Regions from separate parts of the Homo sapiens genome. Here regions 1, 2 and 3 are each linked to region 4. The links are contacts of gene promoters, found by promoter capture Hi-C in blood cells and fetal thymus (Javierre and others, 2016). All regions are on one chromosome and are shown on one strand. The core of a region is centred on a gene start or on the middle of the fragment in contact, and the rest is flanking DNA. Distances in the headings are between cores, read along the strand shown.

Region 1 (2,766 bases), core at 29-2,528, 730 kb before region 4:
TGACAGAATGATTATACCACCCCCAGAACTAGGTGCTCGATGACGCACTGAGTTAATCTCTTTCTATTCCAATGTATACTACATATATCTTTTATTCAATATATTGAGTACAGAAACTTAAAGCTCAGAACTTTGACATTCTCATGCATTAATTTCTTTTTGTTTAAACAACATAAAGAGATAGTCTTCATTAGAGAGGATCATAATGGACATATGTGGATAGGTTTTCCTGTTGGTTGCTCAAAAAGTAAATAGCAAAAATATGTGTCTCTATGTAAACATATTTTCTGAAATTGGGTCAAAAGGATCAATGACTAGTTTGTGGTGTGTGAGTCCTGTGGACGATGTGTGTACTGACCATTCATGCTTCCAGAGCTTCCTTTCTGTTGATCAGGGATTACGGGAATGATGTTTTAGAAATTTGGTCACCTGGTTTGTAAAGTAAGGTCTTCCTGGGCAGAGTTTTGCTTTTCCCTTTGTCTTCTGAGGTAGATTTATAGGCAGCTCTTGTTATTTACACTAAAGGAAGGAGGAGAGAGAGAGATTTTATAAAATTGGATAATCCTAAAATCATTTGGGGGGTGTTAGAATTCATAGTTTATTTTTTAGATAACAGATATGTTTCCTTAATTCATTTTCTTTGGACTAATTTTAGACATTTATTCCTATTACTTGAACACACAGTGGTAAAAGGCAGCAGAGGCATTTCTGAAGCATGAAGGATCATGGGGGAAAAGAATGAGATTAAAATTTTGCTATGGATATTGCCATGTTGTTCTTACACAGTTAAATAACTTAATTCTGTGAAATTTGCTTACAGTGTTGTCTTTTAAGAAGTTATGTACTGTAAAATATATATGCATATGTAAATTTTGTTTATGTATATTTCTGTAAACATATTTTTATTCCTTTATATATAATATACTTATCTATTATATTCCTGTATATTTTATTATATGCATATCAAAATATATAATTAATAATATGTTATATATAATTAATAATATATGTTATATAACATATAATTGTTATAGTCCTTCATATGTTATTATTATATGAGCTTTATAATAATATATAAAGGAATAAAATAAATAAGGTTCTGGTTCTGCCATTGATTTACTGCATGATCAGTGTGGGCTGGGAGTAGGGTGACCAACCATCCCTCCTTTGCCTAGGACTGAGAAGTTTCCAGGGATGTGGGACTTCCAGTTTTAAAGCCAGGGTGAGCTGTTCAGCTGAGCTCAAGGGAGTAGCCATGGACCAGGCAGGGGTGAGTTTTTTTGGTGGCCCAAGCCAAGTGTATATTGCAAAAATATAGTGAGCAAAATAGTGGGTCAAGAAAAGGGTCAGAGGAGAGTTAAGGGGCAAAGCTGAAGTTCACAGCCACCCAAAGTTTTAGACAATGAAGAGTGTTTCTGCAAGGAGCCAAATGAAATTAGAACAAGCTGGGCCCATTCTAGGTGAATAATGAGGTATGGTTCTCCCAGGAGTTCTAGAATAGTCAGTTGGCTACTGTAAGGGTCTTCTCATTCCGTTCCCTCTGCTGCAGGGACCACCTGCTCCAGGACTTACAGAGCCAATAGAGAAAGTCAGCACTTTCCTTCAGGGAAGTAGATTATTTTCATCGTATGCAAGGGATAAAGTAAACATTGGGGTTTAACAATGAACTTTTGTTTCTTATTTTCATTTTTGAAAAGTACTGAGTATTTAATCTTATGAGTATATAGGAAAATTGGGTGGTATTACATGACACTCCAAAATGCTTTCCCTAAAAGTTACCCTCCCATGGATGAGAGTGGTCTGATGGATAGTGGTGGTCTGTGATTTTACCCTACTCTTTCTCTATGAGAAGAGAGGCTCAAGTTTCCTTCTGGATCTAAATGGGTAGAATATGTGTCCAGCCCCTACGGGGTATATTGCCTCTCTCCATCCTCTGGCAGGAGAGGTGCTACTCTGCACCGTGGTATATTTACTTAGTGTACTATATACGTTAACAAATTTAAAAATGTATAAAGTGGAGATTTATGAATACAGAGAAAATAGGGGTAGGGAAAGAATGGTAAATCTAGAAGTGAATCCACAAAATGCATGCTGAGAGGTTCTGTATGGTGGATGGGCAAGGGCCCCCAGTTGGCTTTGTGCCTAGAGAAAAACATGGTCCAATAAGTGAATCAGTGTCCATAAGATACAACAAGCCAGTGCCAGAAGACAAGCTCAATGCTTCTTTGTATGAAGGCAAGAGGGAAGTTTTTCCAGTGGGTTTTCCTAAGGAGGATACTTCGAAATGTAATGAGCCACATTCTCAATAGTATCTTGACAGGCATTTCATAGAAGTGCTTCCTATAATGTTCCTCAGATAAAGGCTGATGGCATAAATTCACAGCTCAATTCAATAAAAATTCCTATCTTAAATTCTTTACAGAACAAAGTAAGGTATGAATATACACATTTTTAAAAGTCATCAAAAGATGGCAAGAACTAAATGAGACAGTCTAGGTATGAAAATCTCTGCTGGCCTGGAACCACCCAAAGACAGATTTTAGAGTATGCAGTGGAATGTCTGGATTTTCAATCCTTCAGGCAATTCTCCGTAATGGTGTTTCTAAAACAAGCTTTTGAAGTATTGAAAGCAATGAGTTTGATGGGATCCTGCCTGACACATACCTCCTGGAATTCACTCTGCCGTGTGGCTGATTATGTCCGGAACCCATTGATAATTCCTCATGTCAACGTTGGGAATGCAAGCACAGACAACACCTAAACAGA
Region 2 (2,700 bases), core at 135-2,634, 690 kb after region 4:
TGTGCCAAGCACTTTATAGAAATGATCTCCAATCCCCACAAAACCCCAAATTAGTACATTATTTCCATTTTAAAGAAGAAGAAATGGGCTCAAGTATTGACACTAATTGCCCTCCATCTCACACAGCCAAGAAGTGTTTGTGCCTGGTAGCCTTTGGTCCAAGTCTCCTTCATAGATCTGAAGCATCTTTTGTCATCACAGAATTATGTTTCCCTATTCTTAAGAAAAGTGGGATCAGCAAATATCAGCTTTACCTTAACGGACTCATTCACGTTTGAGCCCATTTCCCGAGAAGATAATTACATATATTACGTTTTAAAATAAGGCATATAAAAGAACCACATTCCTGTGATAGCTCCCTTTTTCCAAAATCTGACTGCGTTTTTAAAGTTACTATTAGAGAATAGAGAGCCTTGCTTGTTGGGTGTCTGGGACATAAAGTCACAGAAAAATAATTGCATGTTTGCACCATTTAGATCTCACATGTTTAAGTGGTGCAAACATGATCTCCTTCAGGCAATGAGCCATGCTTGCCCAGTGAGCTTGCACGTGGTAATGGGAGAATCCCTCTGAGCATGCATCTCCAAGGCCAAGTGGGCCACAGCAGTTGTGAGTGAGAGGAGGCCATAGCGTCCTAAACTGATCAGACTTGCCAAGTATTCCTACCTGTGGCAAGGGGCTGAAAAGCCCGTGGACTGTACCTTAATGTTGCTTAACAATCCCTGAGGTAGAGAATAAAAGGAATTGTGGAATAACTCTGTGACTTGCCTCGGTTTCCTGATGCCCAGAAACATCTATCTCATTGGTCATCGAGATGAAATGAGGACTGTCCTGGGAAATGGAGTCTTCCTGATTTTAACAAGGTTCTGAAGCAGAAGCAGAGACAAGATTTACTATTCAGGCCTTCTTCCAAAGCCCATTTCCACTGCTCTTCAATAACTGCATCTACCAAATTCTGAATGTTCTCTTCTTTCCCCAAATTCTAACTAGGTTAACTTCATACCAAAACCAGTGTATGACAGTTGAAATAGCAGTTCTTAGAGGTTGTAGTTTCCTGTGTTTTCTTCTGGTTACCATTAACATGGGTATATGTAAAGAATATATATTGGATATATGTATGCTGAATAAAAAGTAGTAATTCATTTTCACCAATGAAATCACAGAGCATGATGTTTCCTAGATAGAGGAGGCTCATGTTTTATAACTGTATTGTTTCAGTTGAGGAAGGAAGGCAATTCTCCAGCAATGCCTTCTTCCTCCACTAGGAAAAGCTTTTACTTTCCTGGTGGTCTTTTTCTACTTGCCCACTAATTATAAAGAACATAAATTATAGATTTAGTAATTACTTGTTTCTTCCCTGTTATCCCCCTTTTGGCAAAGAGCAGAACCAACATAATTTTACCATGCTACCACTTTATTCCCAAATTTATCAGCATAAAATCTAGAACATTTCCAGAATCCTTCTTTCCCTGGTGAGGGAAGGAACAGTAGCTGAATATAAGCTTAACAAGAGTGCAGTGGTGGGATGTTGAATTTAAATGTGTATGCATGACTCGTAGATTTCTATTCATATATGTCAAAAGGAATACTCTAATAAAAAGATTCATTTGATTTTTATTTTAATAAAAAATATATAAATGAGTTCATAGCAGCGCTAATTATACAACTTCTGTCTCTATTTGCAGGTGATAAAAGAAGCCATGGTTGAAAGCATTGAATATAGAAGACAGAATCCATCTCGTTGCTCTGTTTCCCTTAGTAATGTTGAGGCAAGAAGATTTTTCAACAAGGAGTTTCTAAGTAAACCCAAAGCATAGTTCATGTACTGGAAATGGCAGCAGTTTCTGATGCTGAGGCAGTTTGCAATCCCATGACAACTGGATTTAAAAGTACAGTACAGATAGTCGTACTGATCATGAGAGACTGGCTGATACTCAAAGTTGCAGTTACTTAGCTGCATGAGAATAATACTATTATAAGTTAGGTTGACAAATGATGTTGATTATGTAAGGATATACTTAGCTACATTTTCAGTCAGTATGAACTTCCTGATACAAATGTAGGGATATATACTGTATTTTTAAACATTTCTCACCAACTTTCTTATGTGTGTTCTTTTTAAAAATTTTTTTTCTTTTAAAATATTTAACAGTTCAATCTCAATAAGACCTCGCATTATGTATGAATGTTATTCACTGACTAGATTTATTCATACCATGAGACAACACTATTTTTATTTATATATGCATATATATACATACATGAAATAAATACATCAATATAAAAATAAGCATGAGATAACTGAGTTTTTTGTTAATTTTTAATGAGATATTGGACTATTGCTATGAAAGATTCTCATATTCACTGCTTTCAAACGCAAAAGTTGTTCATCCTAAACTCAAGTGTGAAACTTTTAATTTAATTTAATTAATTAATTAATTTTTTTGTGAGACAGAGTCTCACTCTGTCACCTAGGCTGGAGTGCAGTGGTGTGATCTTGGCTCACCACAAGCTCCGCCTCCCAGGTTCAAGCGATTCCCCTGCCTCAGCCTCCCGAGTAGCTGGGACTACAGGTGCCCGCCACCACACCCAGCCAATTTTTAGATTTTTAGTACAGACGGGGTTTCACTATGTTGGCCAGGCTGGTCTCAAACTCCTGACCTCTTGATCTGCCCGCCCCAGCCTCCCAAAGCGCTGGGA
Region 3 (2,700 bases), core at 121-2,620, 590 kb before region 4:
AATTGTAGTATTGTCATTTTCACCACCTGTTTTTATGATTTTGAAGATTTATTTTATTCTTAAAATCTAAATGTTCTTTGGACACAATGCACTTAAGAGGGATTTTTTTTCCCCTTCACAACAGTAGTAAGTTCCGTAATAGAGTCAGGCATTAGAGAGTGATAAATTACTGATACACTCTTAAATGAAAATAACTATACAGTAACTAAAGCTGAAATGTTACCAATGTTAAGCTTAGAGTTATTTATTTTGGACTTTGGACAAAAGTCATAATAAACTTTTATGAATCAATTTATAAAATTGGACAATTCTTAGCTAATGTGCATTTCACATTTCTTGAGATCTTAGGCTTAATGCTTAAATTTTAAAAATTGAAACTCAAATCGGCTTCTAAAAGTCCACACCACCCACATTTTTCAGGGCCTATAAACAATAATACATCATTGAATTAATATTAATACTGACATTATGCAAACATTATTTTGAAACATTTATTTCAACTGAAGAGACTTTACAGTTTGCTTAGGGAACATTCTTCTTCAACAGTTCAACCCTAATCCTCTCTTATTGTCATCCTATATAATTGTCAATGAAAACATTTAGCTTAGTGACTTAAAAAAATACTATGAAAAGCCACAGACAGGTATGTAGTATTTTCCATTTGCAGCTAATAAAATATTACAAACGTATTATTAAATCTTTGTACACTCATGAAACAGAATTATTGTGACAGCCAAAATTTAATTTCAATTCTAGACAGAGTATCTTGAATTTACAAGCGAGTTGCACTGAATCAAAAAGAGTATAAACAGTTTGAAGATAGAGTTTAAAACATAATTATGCAACATTTTTTCTTCAGCTCAGAAGTCTTACCATAACTTGGCTGTAACATTGAAAACAACTACTGCTTATTGAGTGAAAACTACATACTAGTTACCGTATCAGGCAGTTTAAATAACTTAGCCATTTAATCTTTAAAATATATGCTATAGATAGCATCTTTGTTCTCATTTTACAGATGAGGAAGCTGAGGGTCTACAAATTTAATTGATTTGCCCAAAGTTATAAGGCTTGTAAGCATCAGAGCTGGGATTCATGTGTCTAAAGCCTACTAGCAGTGTCAGTAAATGGAAAATATAGGCTAGATCTAGCTACCCCTGCAACTAACTAAATACCTTTCGATTGAGTAGACAATGAAAATTAGTGCTGGAAGAGAGAATTAGTTTAAGTCTTCATTTTGTAAGAGGCAAAGTGACATGCCCAAGACCAAACAACTAGTCATTGGTAAAGCTCTAATTAAGACCCTTAAAACTTGCTTCATTTGGTGTTCTTTTTCTATTCTGTCTGTTAGACAAAAGGAGTTAGCAGCATGAGTAGATCTATCACAGGACATGGTCCTTTCTCCTTAAGTCAAATGAGTTGACCCTATGGACATCCTCTGGCAATTGTTTTCCTCACATTACTTCAGGAATATATTATTTTATGTAATGTGTCCTCTCAAAAAGCTGTCTGTAAGTCATAAAATGGAACTTGCTGGTGTCTTAGAGTTCTACTAGGTCTGCTTCTTTATTCCTTGGATAAGGAAATCCTATCCGAGTGAGATGAATAGGTTTCTCTAAGGTGGCACACTACTAATTGTGCCAAAGTCTTGCTTAATGTACCACACTGCTTTAAGCATTTGTGTTGAGAAAAAGAAAAGTTTAGAGTATTAGGGGGTTTTGCTCCTTAAAAGGTCTTTTATGAATTATTTTTTACCATGGAGAATCCTTCTGTGAAGAGAATAACTTTCCCTTTTATACCTTTTCTGTTCTTACTATTTTGAATCTATAGAATTCATCATATACCTCAACTTTTTTGTCCATGAAAATATGCATCATCTGACTTTGAATAAGTCACACAATAATAAATTCAGATTAGAATTGTCCACACCTTTGTTTCTTCTAAATTTTGGGTATGTAAGCCTCTGATAATTCACATGACTTAATTAAGCAGAAATCTGGCTCCAAGTGTTGCCAGATGGTCACTATATGGATGAGTAAGACATTAACAAGGTGCAAAATGGGCTAAACCAACAAGCCCATTCCTTCAGAGTCCAACTTTGTTGTTTATTTCCCCTGGTGGCAGGAAAACTGGAATGAAACCATATCTCGTATGTGCGATGCTAGCCAGACATTGTGTGCATGTGGTAACAGGAGCCTTATCTCTCAGACCATTAATAAGGATTGGAATAAGCAAAGAAAGGGAAGCCAATAGCAATTGTTAGAGTGATTTTTGAACTCATTACTCATACAGCTGTATAAGAGACTTTAGAACTTCAGCCGACTTATCTTGCTGCAGCAAGTGGCAGTTGTACTTGCTCATGCCAGTGGCCTGAACACAAGAATGCTCAGGTATGAGAAAACACATAGAAAAGGCTGCTATAAGAGATTAATTAGAAAGTGATCATTCATGTTGCTAAATAATTTTTCACTTTCTAAAATATTAACTATGGTAATTATTTTTTCTACTAAGCTTTCTCAAAGCTACTAACATAATTTTAAGAAAATGAAAACCATGAGTTGCATGCAAATATAAAATAAACAAGTCAAAGATTCTATTCAGCTTATCTATTAAAGAAGGAATCAGTAAGATGTTTATGCTGGTTGCAAAAGCATTTGAGGACTTAGGCATTTATAAGCAATTTAATAAAGGAATGTCAGG
Region 4 (2,700 bases), core at 147-2,646:
GACATTTTGTGAGAATTAAATGCAGTACCTACCAAATGAGTAGTAGACAGCAGAATCCAGCCTACAACCATGTGGTTCACTGAACATGTTTTCTTTTTTTTCTTTTCTTTTTTTTTTTTTGAGACTGAGTTTTGCTCTTGTTGCCCAAGCTGGTGTGCGGTGGCGTGATCTCAGCTCACTGCAACCTCTGCCTCTCAGGTTCAAGTGATTCTCCTGCCTTAGCCTCCCGAGTAACTGGAATTACAGGCGCCTGCCACCACACCCGGCTAATTTTTTGTATTTTTAGTAGAGAGGGAGTTTCACCATGTTGGTCAGGCTGGTCTCAAACTCCTGACCTCAGGTGATCTGCCCACCTCAGCCTCCCAAAGTGCTGGGATTGCAGGGGTGAGCCACTGCACCCGGCGTGAGCATGTTTTAAACATATAACATTGGTGAAACAACTGGGCTGTATGTTGGCAATAGACTAACATATAGGTGTTGGTTGTCCTTAGGGAAATCATAGTCTGTTGGGGGTGTGAGACAGATGAAGAGATATTTTAGTAAAACGTAGTACAATTGTTTACTATAATTCTAGATGTGATTGGAATTTGATCTGGAAAGGTTTCAGGGAGGTGCTAGGACATGAGCGAAGCCTTATGTTGGTGGGTAAGATTTTACACCGATACATTCCGTATGAAAGTGGGGTAAAGCCTTGGGCTGAGCTGACTTAGCTCTGCAATGGTGATGGTTCACATTTTCATTGTGGGAAGGAAACAAAATTAGTAATTTAAAAGACCTTTTCCAAACATGCTTATCTTAAAGGAAGGATCTAAGGAAAATATCAATACATTTTTTAAGCAGATTTTTAAAATAATAAAGGAAGCTAGAAAATCCAGTGTCAATAATCTACCTGTAGGTAACTGAGAGCATGTTTTCTGTGCTCAGAGAAAATGAAACTACTCAAGAAATGTATATTTGATATAATGGTATAAGTATATAAAATGTATGCCACAAGCTAACACTAGGTAAATTTCAAAGCTACCTTTGCTAGATTTAACTGGAAAGCAGAAGAAATAAATGATACCAGTATGTGAATATTTTAAAGTTGCTGCTTCAATATACTAGTCAAAGTCTGCCAGAGCTATTTACCATCTCAGGACAATTTGTTCACTTCACTTAGAAATTAGAAATGTGCTCTGGCCAATACATCTAAATTTATTTTGTGGTAGTCATTTTGCTTAATGGAAGTGTTTTCCAGATGTTGCCTAAGTCTAGTCGTCTGGGCCCTTTTCCAATAAATGAGGAAAGTTTGATTTCATAGGTTGTCACTGTTGATTTTGTCTAACCTTTGGACTAATTGGTTCATCCCACTGTATTTGCACTGATATATAAGACTCCCAGGACGTGGGATAAACTCATCTATCCTTTACGGGTAAGTGTCAAAGTTAACTTGCTTCATAGAATTAAATGTGTTTTCATTAGAGGTGTTTGAAAAAAAATGTGTAAAGATAGTAGTTGGAAATTTTTGAAAAGGATTATGTTTATGCAATACACCTGTTGGAAGCCTTTGAATTTATATTGAGAATTAAGAAAAAGTTGGAACAGTAACTCCATGATGCTTATTAAATTACATTTCTGTGACACAGGTTATTATTTTCCTTAAGATAAAATTTTAACCTTGCACTGTTAAGTACATGCCATACTTTGGCTAGAGTTTTAAGATAAGTCTATTCTATATTGGAGATTTCTTAAGAATTAAAACTGTCAATAACGTGGCTGAGGGTGACTTGATTTGTTCTGCATAAGATTAAGTCTAATGGCCAAATATTTTCTATAAAATTAAAGCTGATTTAAAGTCTTGTTTCAAGAATGGGATGGTTTTATTATTGTTACATTTTTAAAGTTACTGAAATGTGTATAATGCAAGCCTAAGTTAGTGGTGAGATGAAAGAGCTGTTTTCTGATACTTTTATTTTATTTTCAGCAAGGGTACCTACGGTACCTGAAAACAACGATGGCATGGAAAACACTTCCCATTTACCTGTTGTTGCTGCTGTCTGTTTTCGTGATTCAGCAAGTTTCATCTCAAGGTAGCTTAACCATCGAACATACTTTTATTTAACAACTATTGCTAATCATTCAGTCTTGATTTTTATAACAACGGAAATATATTTCTAAAAATTTATATTTGCTTGAGTTTAATATACTGTACAACCTTAAAATAATATATAACATGTAGCCTGTTTGTAAGTGCTTTGGAATTCTCATCTTTTTCTCCTTTTGAGAGTTTTGAGCTTGTATAAAGAATAATTTTGGTACTTGTTATTTCTATGGTTCTCTCGAAAGTTTAAAAAGTGCAGACAGTTCATCATAAAATTATGCTGGAGCTATATAGTATCATAAAAATAACTAAAAAAGAACAATATTTAGATAACATGTAATTTTTGCCTATATGTTGAACAATTTGTTTTTTAAAATCAAATAAATTATTGATAAATAACTTATTTTGGCATCATTTAGACATAGATACCATATTATAATAAACTATAGTGTTTCAAATGGCATTTTATTAGTCTTGAAAATGTTCTCTTTTTCTTACAAGAACTATTTATCCAGGTATGGACATATACAGATGTGACTGTCATTTTGTGTTATAACATTAAACTTTTCACAGTTCTCCCAAAACAGGTCCTGGATGAATAGTTCTTGTTACTCATTTTT

Evidence for each region. The method cuts DNA at HindIII sites, captures the fragments that hold promoters and counts their contacts. A CHiCAGO score of 5 or more calls a contact.
Region 1: a fragment that was not itself captured here is called in contact with the fragment with the promoter of PRG4 in region 4 in 1 of 17 cell types (non-activated CD4 T cells); the score reaches 5.3 in non-activated CD4 T cells.
Region 2: a fragment that was not itself captured here is called in contact with the fragment with the promoter of PRG4 in region 4 in 1 of 17 cell types (total B cells); the score reaches 6.1 in total B cells.
Region 3: a contact is called between a fragment that was not itself captured here and the fragment with the promoter of PRG4 in region 4, in 1 of 17 cell types (M2 macrophages). The highest score is 5.9, in M2 macrophages.

What each region holds. Positions count from the first base shown.
Region 1 is chr1:185,562,810-185,565,575 of GRCh38, forward strand. LINC01350 (long intergenic non-protein coding RNA 1350) reads right to left here. Exons shown (of 4, transcript NR_110793.1): 3 at 359-519. The region is part of intron 1 of LOC107985239 (a long non-coding RNA gene); the gene reads left to right. Among named protein-coding and RNA genes, the nearest start is that of LINC01350, 64 kb to the right of the region's middle. The HindIII fragment of the contact is 2,664 bases long and covers 1-2,610 here.
Region 2 is chr1:186,986,692-186,989,391 of GRCh38, forward strand. It overlaps PLA2G4A (phospholipase A2 group IVA), which reads left to right. Exons shown (of 18, transcript NM_024420.3): 18 at 1,686-2,290. The coding sequence ends at 1,817. Among named protein-coding and RNA genes, the nearest start is that of LINC01036, 100 kb to the right of the region's middle. The HindIII fragment of the contact is 231 bases long and covers 1,270-1,500 here.
Region 3 is chr1:185,702,174-185,704,873 of GRCh38, forward strand. No RefSeq gene overlaps it. Among named protein-coding and RNA genes, the nearest start is that of HMCN1, 31 kb to the right of the region's middle. The HindIII fragment of the contact is 2,278 bases long and covers 232-2,509 here.
Region 4 is chr1:186,294,883-186,297,582 of GRCh38, forward strand. PRG4 (proteoglycan 4) reads left to right here and starts at 1,397. Exons shown (of 13, transcript NM_005807.6): 1 at 1,397-1,411; 2 at 1,964-2,069. The coding sequence starts at 1,994. The HindIII fragment of the contact is 3,679 bases long and covers 1-2,700 here.